Linked DNA regions of Homo sapiens: region 1 is linked to region 2. The links are contacts of gene promoters, found by promoter capture Hi-C in blood cells and fetal thymus (Javierre and others, 2016). All regions are on one chromosome and are shown on one strand. The core of a region is centred on a gene start or on the middle of the fragment in contact, and the rest is flanking DNA. Distances in the headings are between cores, read along the strand shown.

Region 1 (5,245 bases), core at 1,864-4,363, 130 kb before region 2:
AGGGGGAAGCACATGAGCCTAACTAGATACTTGTGGACGTGATCATTGGGTGTGCAAAGAGATCAGTTCTTTCCCCTACATATACACGCTCTCTCTCTCACACTCACACTCTCACACACAGTCACTTACACACACTTACACACACAGACTCAATCTCATAGTCTAGCGGATAGTCCCTTCCACGCTGCAAAGCCTCAAGGAAGGGAAAGCCCAGCTCTGAGGCAACCACCAGAGACTCTTTGCTCCCCCCCTCGGGGGGAGGATTTTCTCATTATCTCCTTGCTTGCTACTTGTAGAGGAGATGGAATCCTGGCTCTCCAAGCCTTCCAGTGGCTGCTATCTTCATCCTGACTTATCAGTCCTCGCTTGTCTTCCACAGAGCCTGGCAAGGGCCCCCGTCTGAGGGGTGTCAGAGCACAGGCTGAGGCCTCTTGCCTGACGTGGGACCCCTTGGTCTGGCATTTGTCAGTGAGGCAGGCTGGGGGCAGGCCCCGGAGCTTGGCAGGAGGTGTAAACCGGCCTTGGAAGGTAGGGCCCCACAATGGGGACAGTTGGATCTCTGAGGGAGACAGGGAGGCATGATCACTGCCAAATGCCCACCAAGGACAAGGCACATCCCAGGGAGACAGACGCAGACCTGGTGCCCTCTGGACACTGGCATTCCTGGAGGCTGATGATGGACAGATGGGCCTGGAGGTGGCTCTTCGCCAGCTGGTGTTTCCTTTGGACTTCCTCAGTGTCTTTGGAGAAGCAGAGCCCTAAGAATAAGCAGCTGCCCATAAAATCTAATACCAGCCAAGCATCTCAGGAATTCATGGATTGTCTCCATACCCCTCCCTCTGTGCCCCAGCATGACAGCTGAGACTCTGGGGTCACACTACACCTCCACCTCCTCCACCCCAGCCTTACCCTCCCCTGGTGGCGGAGGCAGAGGTGGAGGGAGGCCCAGAAGGCTTTCTGACCCGTTGGGAGATTCAGGGGAGGTGGCCAAAGCTGTGTTCATTGGGGTTGGGATAGTGCTTCATGGGCACAAAGGGAAAGGAGAGAATTAGGGCAGAGGAAGGGGTGGCTCTGGGATACAATTATTGGCAGGCACTTTACAAGTGTCTTTTAATTCCCCACTTCCCAGACCCCACAACAAGGTTCTTGAACCAAGTCCAAACTCCTGCCCCCGAGCTCCATGCCTGCCCACTCCACACACACTAGGCTCTCCCATCCTTCATTTCACAGCCTGGCTCAGGGCTCCTGTGCGCCCCTGCACACCTGCTCTCCACCTCAGCTGTCCCCTTCCTTTCCCTGAGCTTTTGCACAGTTCCTCCCTTCCCCTGCATTGGAATGCCCTGTGTCCAGGCCCAGGCAAGACGGTGAATTATGTCTGGTTTTGGAACATCTCCCTCTGCAGCCTCACGGACCCCCTCTTTGGCCTGGGCCCCAGGATCACCTGGTCAGGGGGCTTCAAATTGTATTCCACAGCCAAGTGTCCTCACAGAAGACCAGAGGGCTGCTATGGGAGCCCCCTTCAACCAGTGCCATTTGGCTCTTTTTGTTTGTTTGACTTTTTTTTAAGTTCGGGGTACATGTGCAGGATGTGTGGGTTCGTTACACAGGTAAACATGTGTCATGGAGGTTTGTTGTATCAATTATTTCATCACTCAGGTATGAGAGACGTACCCATTAGTTATTTTTCCTGATCCTCTCCCTCCTCCCACCCTCCACCTTCTGATAGGCAAAATGCCATTTTGCTTTTACTGATTGAATTTATTTTACTTCCAAGTAAGATTTGGTTAGGACAAAGGATTCAACCAAATAATATTAATTAAATATTATTTTAATTACTTATTATTAATAATAAACATCAAGAGGAAACTCACTGATTTAACCCCTAATTTTGCAGAGAGGAAAACCAACCCAGAGAGGGGAAAGACAGACTAGGGTGAACACGGGATTTGCCCTGCCTTGCGGCTTATTCTCTCCCACTCAAGGCCTCCCACTGCCCCACCCTGGAGGTGCCAGTTGCATTGCCATCTGTGGATGGAGTTGTGCCATGTGGCAGCTACCCGTTTTCCAGCATCCACTCTGCTCATTCACTTTCTAGGCCTTCCTCTCTCTGAGCCCTTCAATGACCACCCTTATTCCACAGGATAAAGTCTAAACTCAGCCTGTCCTTCAAGGCCCTCATGAGTGAGCTACACTCTCACTTATTTTTTTTTTTTTTTTTTTGAGAAGGAGACTCATTCTGTTACCCAGGCTGGAGTGCAGTGGTGCGATCTCGGCTCACTGTAACCTCCGCCTCCTGGGTTCAAGCAATTCTTCTGCCTCAGCCTCCTGAGTAGCTGGGACTATAGGCGTGCACCACCATGCTGGCTAATTTTTGTATCATTAGTAGAGACGGGGTTTGACCATATTGGCCAGGCTGGTCTTGAACTCCTTACCTCATGAACTGCCCGCCTTGGCCTCCCAAAGTGCTGGGATTACAGGCATGAGCCACTGCGCCCAGCTGCTCTCACTTTCCAAACATATTTCCTATGGACTCCATTCTGTTCTCCACTGGGATTGGCAAGCTTTATCTGGAAAGGGCCAGATAGCTTTGTAGCTCACATAAGGTTTCTGTTGCAAATTCTTAAAAAAAAAAAAAAAAAAAAAGCTTACAATTCTTTAAGCAAAAACAGGCTGGGAGCCAGGTCAGGCTTATGGGCTGTAGTTAGCTGACCCCTGCCCTGCAACCCTGTCCCATCTTGACCTGCTGGAATCCAATGTGTCTGATTTCTTCCTTTTGTGTTCTGACTCTGTCTCCTAGGCTGGGCTCCCAAGGCCCAGCTGGGCAGGGGCAGGGGTTTCCACTTTCCCTTATGAATGATTCCTCTGTGCCCCCTAGGTGCTGTCTCACTGCCACCATGCCGGAAGTGTAAGTAGTCTCACTGCCATCTGGGGCCCCAGGAAGGCAAGTCCCTTTGCCACAGACTTCAGCCCCGCAGTGGAGGCACCATGTTTTCAACCCCCAAAGCTTTTCCCTAAGAGACCAGGTCCTCAAACAGGGGCAGCACTTGATGGTTTCCCCTGTGCTGCCTGTGTCCTCCCAGCCATTGAGCAGAACTCACTCCCAGGTTGCCCTGGGAGTGCCTTTTTGGCTTGTGCCTCAGAGATTTCCTGTCTTGATCTATCACATGAATTGCATGTACCAGGCCACCACTTAACACTGGTGCAGTAGGTGAACAAAGCTTTGGGAATTTACCCACGCACCCGTGGATGGATGCTTTCACGTTGCTGGAACCCTACGCTAAGGCTTCCCTCCCCTTCCACCACTTGTCCCCAACTTACGATGCCCAGTACCTCCCAATAAGAATGCCCCGTAGTTCAAAGGGCTGTTGAATTTTTATTTTATTCTGCCGGAACCTCAAACCGCTCCCCTTGCCTGATGCCTGATGACTTTCTGGCTCACTGTTGTCACTGGCCCCCTCCTCCCCCAAGCTGGTCTGTGAGGTTCTGCGACTGCACATGTAATCCTCATTGTTCATACTCACTCTGTGTTCTGCTCTTTCCCCGTCCTTCCTGTGATGGATGCCTGAAGCGAGGTAAGTGATATTTGGGGTATCTCTGTCTTGGTTAACTCTAACGACTGGTAAAAGTGGGAAGGTGGGGTTGGCATCTGAGGAGAGGGAAGAGCCTGTGTTAAGGCCTGGTGGGAGTCCAGGGGGTGTAGGGTATTTAGTGGCTGAACAAATTCCCAGGAGATGGAAACGTCAGGTGAAGATTCTGGATGTGGGGCTTCCTAGTGTCCAGGGAGTTGCTGTGCCAGTGTACCATGTCACTGGAAGGACTGGTATTGCAGCAGGGTTGGGTGTGACTCTGCATCCTTGCTGAGCACAAGCTCTTCCTCACCCACTCTGAGAGCTGGTCCAGTCCTGGGGGGACCATCCTATTCCATGCAGAGCTGATCCTGTGCAAAGCTATATTGGAAGGGTAAGGGATAGTCATTGGGTTATTCCACCCTTGCCCAATGGCTGAACATTGATTGAGGAGCAAAGAGATGTCCTTAAATCCCTCAGGTGTTAGAAAACCCTGACACTGGCCATTCTATACACTCCAGACTTACCAGGCTACTGAGATCACAGCCTATGTACAGTCCAAGGATGGGGATGGCAGGGATAGGGATGTGGGCCCAGGGATGGAAACAGTGAGAATTAGCAGTATTGATGGAGGGGATATTTGGCACAGAGATTCTCAGTAAGAATTGAACATGTTACTTTTCAACATTCATATGAATTTTTAAGTTTTGCTGAGGCTCGTATTAAAGTGAGTCCTCACTGACTGATGGTCAAATGAGGTGGCCATCGGCTCACCAAGTGGTGGGGAAATAAGATCGCAGTCAAACATTTGCCATGTGTACATTACAGTGTGTAAACCATGGTAGTAATGCTTAGAGTCATAGGCTCTTTCTTTTGAAATTGCACTTATCTGAAATGTAACAAAAATCTTTAGGAGAGGAAAAGACAAACCAACCACTCTGAACAGTCAGAATAGAAGTTACACATTCCATTTGCTGAAACTCATCCATTGTCTCTCATGAGAACTTCCCTCTCAAAGCCTAATCACTTCTACTTGACACCCTGGAATAACATTTGAGAGCCATGCTCTGCCGGCTCACAGCACATTAAGTCTAGGTAGGATGCTTCCTGCTGGCAATGAGAAGTGACCGCCTATGGCCCAGAAGATACTCTAGTGCTCGAAAGGCATCACAGTCTCATTAGTTGGGGACCAAGCAGCCCTACTACTCACCTTTGCCAACCCTGAGGGACCACTGTCACAGGGCTAGGACTAGTAAGCAAGAACATGTTTAGGATTTTTGATAAGAAGATAAAACAGTGGTTTTATATCTTAGAAAGATTTGTATGGGTGGTGTTAACATTTTTAAAAGTTTTGAGGTCTACATAGATACGTTTCATTTATTTGGGAAATTCACAGCTTATTTATGCAGCATGACGGATCATCAAGGTATTGCTGTATTACTACCTGGAGTGTGAAAACACATAGCTTTTACGATTTTCAAAGGATTTGCACATCCATGATCTCATTTCATCTGCAATAACTCTGTGAACTAAGTAAGGGGGGGGGTCCTAATATCCTTATTTACAGATGAGGAAGGAGGTGCCTGTAGAAGCCATGTGGCCCTCATAGTATCTTACAAGATTTCAGCAGCAGCAGAATCAGAGTGGGAAGTTAAGGCTTCAGCCCCTAGGTCAAGGTA
Region 2 (5,838 bases), core at 1,198-3,697:
CTGAGGGTAGAGGGGACACGCCCACAGGGCTAGACCTTGGAGTTTCTGGAGAGGTAGCCATCAGCATCAACCCTCCCCCAGTGAAGCCCCCTGGGGGACCTTGGGAGGAAAAACAAAGAGGGAACAAAGGAGACCTTATCAGATAGAAGTTCCCCACAAAGACCAAGCCCAGAAAGTGCACTTCTTGCTGACAGACACTCAGCCAATATCCCGATAGGTAGGAGGAAAAAGGGGTCCTTGGGGCACCCAGGGCCGGTTTGAGTTTTCTGGAGTTGTGAGCCAAGAGCTCAGGCTGGGATGGAGTGGGAGTGGGAAGGGGACAGCCAAGTCTTGTGCAGAGAGGAGAGTAGGTTGAGCTGTGCTCTGGGCTGTAGCCAGAAATGGGGGCACTTTGTTATTCCAAACCTAATTCTAAAGAGGCTAGGAGGCACCTACCAAGGCACCAAATAAAAGGGAAGGAGGCAAGTGCTCTGGAGGTGGCATGATCTTGAGTGGAAATGTGACGAGAGGAGCCTGGAGCCCACACAAAGGCAAAGAGCACACAGAGAAGCAAAGGCCTTTAGGTCTGGGGCCCAGGAAGTCCTCTGCCGGCCATTTTCCTTCCCTCGGCTCTACAAGGGGCCACTCAGGAATGGGGGCTAGGGAGTAGGTGGGGGGACAGAAGCCACAGGTAGAAGGAAGTGTGAGGTGTGTGTGTGTGTGTGTGTGTGTGTGTGTGTGTGTGTGTGTGTGGTGGAAGGGCCAGGGTCGGTTTCTTTTGTCTCCTTCCACCTTATTACCCCCTGCCCCTCACTCTCTCCTAAGGCCTGTCTTAATACATAAGTCTTGGTTGACCTGTACTGTTTGGTAATGGGTAAAGTCTTATTAGCATTTTACTAAACTTAGCTAAATAAAATAAGTAAATAAATAAACAAGTGGAATCTTTGCTCACTTGTGTGTAATTCTTACCAGGCATCCTTTGTATCAAAGTGTTTACTTGGTCTATAAGCTCTCCCCTGTCAGGTACTGCCCCTTCCTCCTTGAGTTTCCTGGGTGCTGCCCCTTTCTCCCAGGTTCCCCCAGTCATGGGATCTGGCCTCTCAGAGGCTGGAGGAGGGGGTGCCAGGCCCGGGATCCAGCTTGGAAAAGTGCCCGTGAGGGTTCAGCTGGAGGTCTCCCTGGGGCCCGGGGGGATTTCCAACCTGCCATTCCGTACTCTCCCCATGAGACACTTGTTTCTACCTAAGCTGGGTGGGGTAAGAAGAATCCAGTGGGAAAGAGGATTTCTGCATTGGCTATTCGGGAAAGAAAGCATCCCTGACCCCCTTCCCTGTCGTCAAGGGACCCACTGGCCCTGGGGCGGCCTTCCAACTAGGCTAGCCTCTTTCAGGAGGCTCTCGATAAAGTGCCCTGGAGTTCCAGGCCCTCGTCCCTGCTCCCTGTGCCACTTTCCCGTCCCGCAGCGCCTCTCCTGAGCTGCACTCCTGTCTCAGCGACTCCCTCACCCCGCTCGCGGATACTCATGCGCGGCCCCACAGGGACTGGGGTTCCCCTTGGCCTGGACGCTGGGCATCGGCCTCCAGCTGAAGGCCAGGAGATCAAGCCCAGGAAGGGTGAAGGGTGGCCCACAACCGTTTGCGAGCGCGGGGACCATGGGCCCCAGGACAGCCGGGGCCAGACAGGATGCAGGGCAGATCCCTAGAGCAGCATCCGAAAGAGAAAGCCGTCCAGACCCAGGGCTCAGGGACAGGAGAACCGCTCGCGGGGGATCCTCAACCTCCTGGCACGCTGGGACATGCTCCTGGCTGTGTCCCGGTGAATCACCCATCCTTGCCCACTAGCGCGCCATCGAGCTCGCGGGGCCGTCGAGCCAGCCTCGGGTCGCGTTTACACCAGCTCAGAACCGGCTGGGAGCTCGGCTGCTCGCACTAGGTGCGTAGACCCTGCCTGGGGCCGGCAGCCCCTCGCCTCCCCTCATCCCCGGGGATGCGTGCGTCTCTTGGTCCCCGCCACTGGGCCAGGGTGCTCTGGAAAGGGGCGCACGGACCACGCGGGGGCCGAGCCTTTACCTCGATTGGAGTGGCTCAGGGTGGACGACTGGGAAGACTTGGACTTCTGCCGCTTGACGGTCATCATCACCTGCTCCTGCACGCGCTGCCTGCCAGACGTGCCTGTTTTCATCTTTTGGTCCGACGGCAAAGCCAACGTGGAGTTGTCCTGGTCCTGGAAGCATTCGTACGCCAAGGCGGTCTTGAGCGGCGAGTGGTTCATGGTGGCGGGAGGCGGGTGGCGCGCGGCCGGGGCCTAGGAGAGCAGAGAGGCGAGGCGAGGTGCGGTGCAGCGGGCGGGCAGGAGCGTGCTCTTCTCGCTCTCAGCGGCTCCCTACGGCCATAGAGTGCGTGGTCCGCGTGAGGGCTCCCTGCAGCTGCTCCTGGCGCTTCCACCCTGGTTCGTCCCTCTCTGGCACTGGCGAGGCCCGCCCTCCGTCAGACAGGATATACCACCCCTGCCCTGCACCACCCACTCCACCGGGCCGCGCGCTGCTGCTGCTCAGACGCGGAGCTGCAGGGCACTGCTGCTGCGGAGCCAGCGCTCTTGGGGGCAGGGCTGCGAGTCCCCTGTGTGGGACGCTGGGCGCCTTCCTGCTCGCTCTTTTTTTTCTCTCCCTTCCCTCTCCCCATGAGCAAGAAACGTCGCAAGCCTTGAGGCCCCAGGGAGACGCCCCTCTGTCCTGTTCTGCCGGCTCACTGAGAAAGCATGTGCTCAGCTCAGGAACCGAGGGAGACCTCTCTCTAGGAAAGAAAGGAGTCTTTCTTGACCAGGCTGCCCAGGAGAGCCAGGCGTCCATCTCCCTCTGTACTGAGGTCATAGCAGAGACCAACCCCGGCGGTGGAGGCTCCCGGGCTGATGGCAGAACCATAGCTCTTGCTCCAAAGGAGTGCTCCATCTTATGGGGGTAACCCAGTCTACTCTAAAGGAGCTTCCTCTGAAGAAAGTGGGGTAGGGGCAGTAAGGCCACATCAAGGAGCAGACTTGGGATATCAGACCACACAGTGGGTATGCCTTGGTAAAACCGGTGGTTATTTGTTGTTCATGAGTATACCCCGGTAAAACACCACGTGAACAGCGGATCCTCTCTGAAACTCCACTATAACCTCTAAAACAATGCCTGGCACACATAATATTAGGCGCTTAATAAAAAATATTTTAAATAGGTGAATACGTGAATGCTAGTTAATTTAAGGTAAATTAAATCTAACTCGGATCCTAACCAGATCCTCACTGAAAAATTGAAAAGCTGCTTTACCCTGAAATTTCACTCTGGACTTATTATTCTGGGACCACTGTGTGCATTCCCCTATATACACTCACCCCTGGGGACACATGTGCAGTGAAGCTTTATTCATGTAGCATCCTCTCCAGGCGTGGAGGGAGCCCACATCAGTGAATTTGGTGTGTAACAGGAGCTGAGTGTTTTTTTTTTTTTTTAAGTATTTACTTTGATGGAAATCTTTCTAAAAGGTATCGCATTCTGTTTGCCTCCTAAAGCAAACAACACTGAACATATTTGCTGTACTTCTTGATGCCCTGGGTTTCTCATTCTGGACATCCATTACTGAACTGTGTAGTCGTGCTGTCCGGTCAGTTTCTTAGTTTTGGGGCCTCCACCAGTGTGTGACACTATCACAGCCGTCACTCTTGCTGTCATTTGAGGCTGCCGCTCACAGCTCACATATTTTACTTTTAGTTTGCTCTTCTAATCTACAGAGGAAAGGACAATCAGAAATCTATTCTTTTTGGGAATTTTATGTCGAGGAAGGATCAAGAAGACTGAATGACTGTCTCAGGGACCATGTACATGAAGGTCACTCACGCAACTCCTGAGATGTGGGTGTTACATGCGGGGAGCCCCAGCTTTCCCAAGGAAGGTATTCCTAGTAGCAATTTGCAGAGCAGATTATTGTAAAGCAGATTATAGTTTCCAATAGAAACAGTTTTATTATTGAGGGCGCTGTTCCTAAGAACTTAACCTCAAGTAAACCAGAGATGTGATAAAAAATATGTCATAGATGTGTACAAAATACCTGTAAACCTCTATTATCACTTCATATTGTAAGATTCTGCCTCTAGCCATAGACCGCCAGGACTGGACAGAGCCTTGGACTTCATCCAGCCAAGCACTGCATTTCACTGATTAGGAGAGGAGGTAGCTTGCTTGCAATGCCCCAGTTAATATGTGGCAAAGCCTGCATCCTAACCAGGCCTTGTGACTCCTGGCACAGTGCTCATTCCACCACATCATCCAGCTTCCCTTATAAAAGTCCTATAAAATGGACATTAAAGTACAGTGCACACCGATTATATAAGGGCCCCAATGTACTGTAAAGTATACACAGCAGCATATAAAAATACAATTCTATTGTATCACACATTTGGCCTATCTAAAACCTAATATGCTAGCCATAATAAATGTTAATTACATCTTTAAATAACGATAATTTTCCTATTCTAGGATATAGAAGGGCCCTGAAGGAGGGGATTAGAGTAGCTCATCTTCCTATAAAAGGCAAGTCCGTGGAAGCAGAACTGATTATCTTTAAAATTGTTTCCAGGTATGAAGTTCAGTTTTTCTAGCTACTTCTCTACTATGTTAATATTGACATTATTTTGACATATTGATAGCAATAGCATTTACTATGCTCCTCCAAACACCATGCCTACCAACCAGGCATTGTTCTGAGCCCTGTACACGAACCACATCATTTAAATCCTTACAATGACCCTATGAGGTGGGCACCATCACCCTTCTTTTTCAGATGAGGTAACTGAAGTTCCATGAGGCCACCCAGCTGGCAACAGGCAGACAAGGCAACTGCAATCCAGAGCTGGACACTCAGTGGCAGTGCCAGGCTGCCGCCTCGAGATTTCTCTGTGACAAGCAGATCCTTCTCTGGATAGGTATTTTAACAGCATCCATTCCCATCACAGGGCACGAAAGTCAGGCCAGCTGGGTTCCTGATCTAGTTGTGTCACTAACTAGCTTCATGTTAGACAAGTGCCTTCCTCCGTCCCTTGCACCAATCTACAAAGAGAGCGGGTAAACTTCGTGGCTCCTAAACTCCACTCTAGCCCCAACATTCTATAATTCTGTCGATTGTGGGGATTTGTAGGGCAGGACATCTTGAATCAGGCCCTTCTGACAGAGGAGGAGAGGAAAGAGAAGTCAGGTTACACATTCTGGGCCACGGTGAGGGAGATATACTCAGGCTGGGAGGATTGGTTTGGGGCTCAGGTATATGGTTTTGAGCCAGCAGGCCAATGCTATTTCCATAATCTCTCTCTCTCTTCTGCCTGCCTGAGCCCCACCCTATGTGGGGCCTGTCTCAGAAATCAACCAGCAAGGAGGCTAACACTCCTAAAGTGAAGAAAAGATGTCAAGGAGGCACAGTCACATGATCCTGGCTCTGAAATGGCATGCTTTCAGGTGACTGTCAGAACATATATTTAGATGTTAAAATTCTAATGGATATGGGTTAATTTTGGCTTGGAAGGTGTTGGGGGTGATCAGGGGGAAGCATCCTGAAAGAAGTTAATTTTGACTTGATTCTGAAATAAGATGAGTATATTTTCATCCTCAAAGGAATGAGTATGAACGGGCTTCTAATTCTCTTTGCTGCCTCCTTAGAGCATTAAGTGTGACCCAGATTTCCCTTTCAACATTCTGGCTCCCAGACTTCACATCCTGTCATCTCTATGTTCATTAAAAAGTGAAATATGAGTTCATTTACTCAACAAGTATTGACTGAGCATCTGCTATGTGACAGACCTTGTCCCAGGTACTAAGGATACAATGGTGAG

What was found. The method cuts DNA at HindIII sites, captures the fragments that hold promoters and counts their contacts. A CHiCAGO score of 5 or more calls a contact.
Region 1: a contact is called between a fragment that was not itself captured here and the fragment with the promoter of PKP1 in region 2, in 1 of 17 cell types (fetal thymus). The highest score is 5.1, in fetal thymus.

Annotation. Positions count from the first base shown.
Region 1 is chr1:201,415,443-201,420,687 of GRCh38, reverse strand. It overlaps TNNI1 (troponin I1, slow skeletal type), which reads left to right. Exons shown (of 9, transcript NM_003281.4): 2 at 2,876-2,905; 3 at 3,569-3,572. The coding sequence starts at 2,895. Among named protein-coding and RNA genes, the nearest start is that of TNNI1, 3.7 kb to the left of the region's middle. The HindIII fragment of the contact is 214 bases long and covers 3,007-3,220 here.
Region 2 is chr1:201,280,115-201,285,952 of GRCh38, reverse strand. PKP1 (plakophilin 1) reads right to left here and starts at 2,447. Exons shown (of 14, transcript NM_001005337.3): 1 at 2,049-2,447. The coding sequence starts at 2,250. RefSeq lists an enhancer at 2,077-2,606. The HindIII fragment of the contact is 6,778 bases long and covers 1-3,378 here.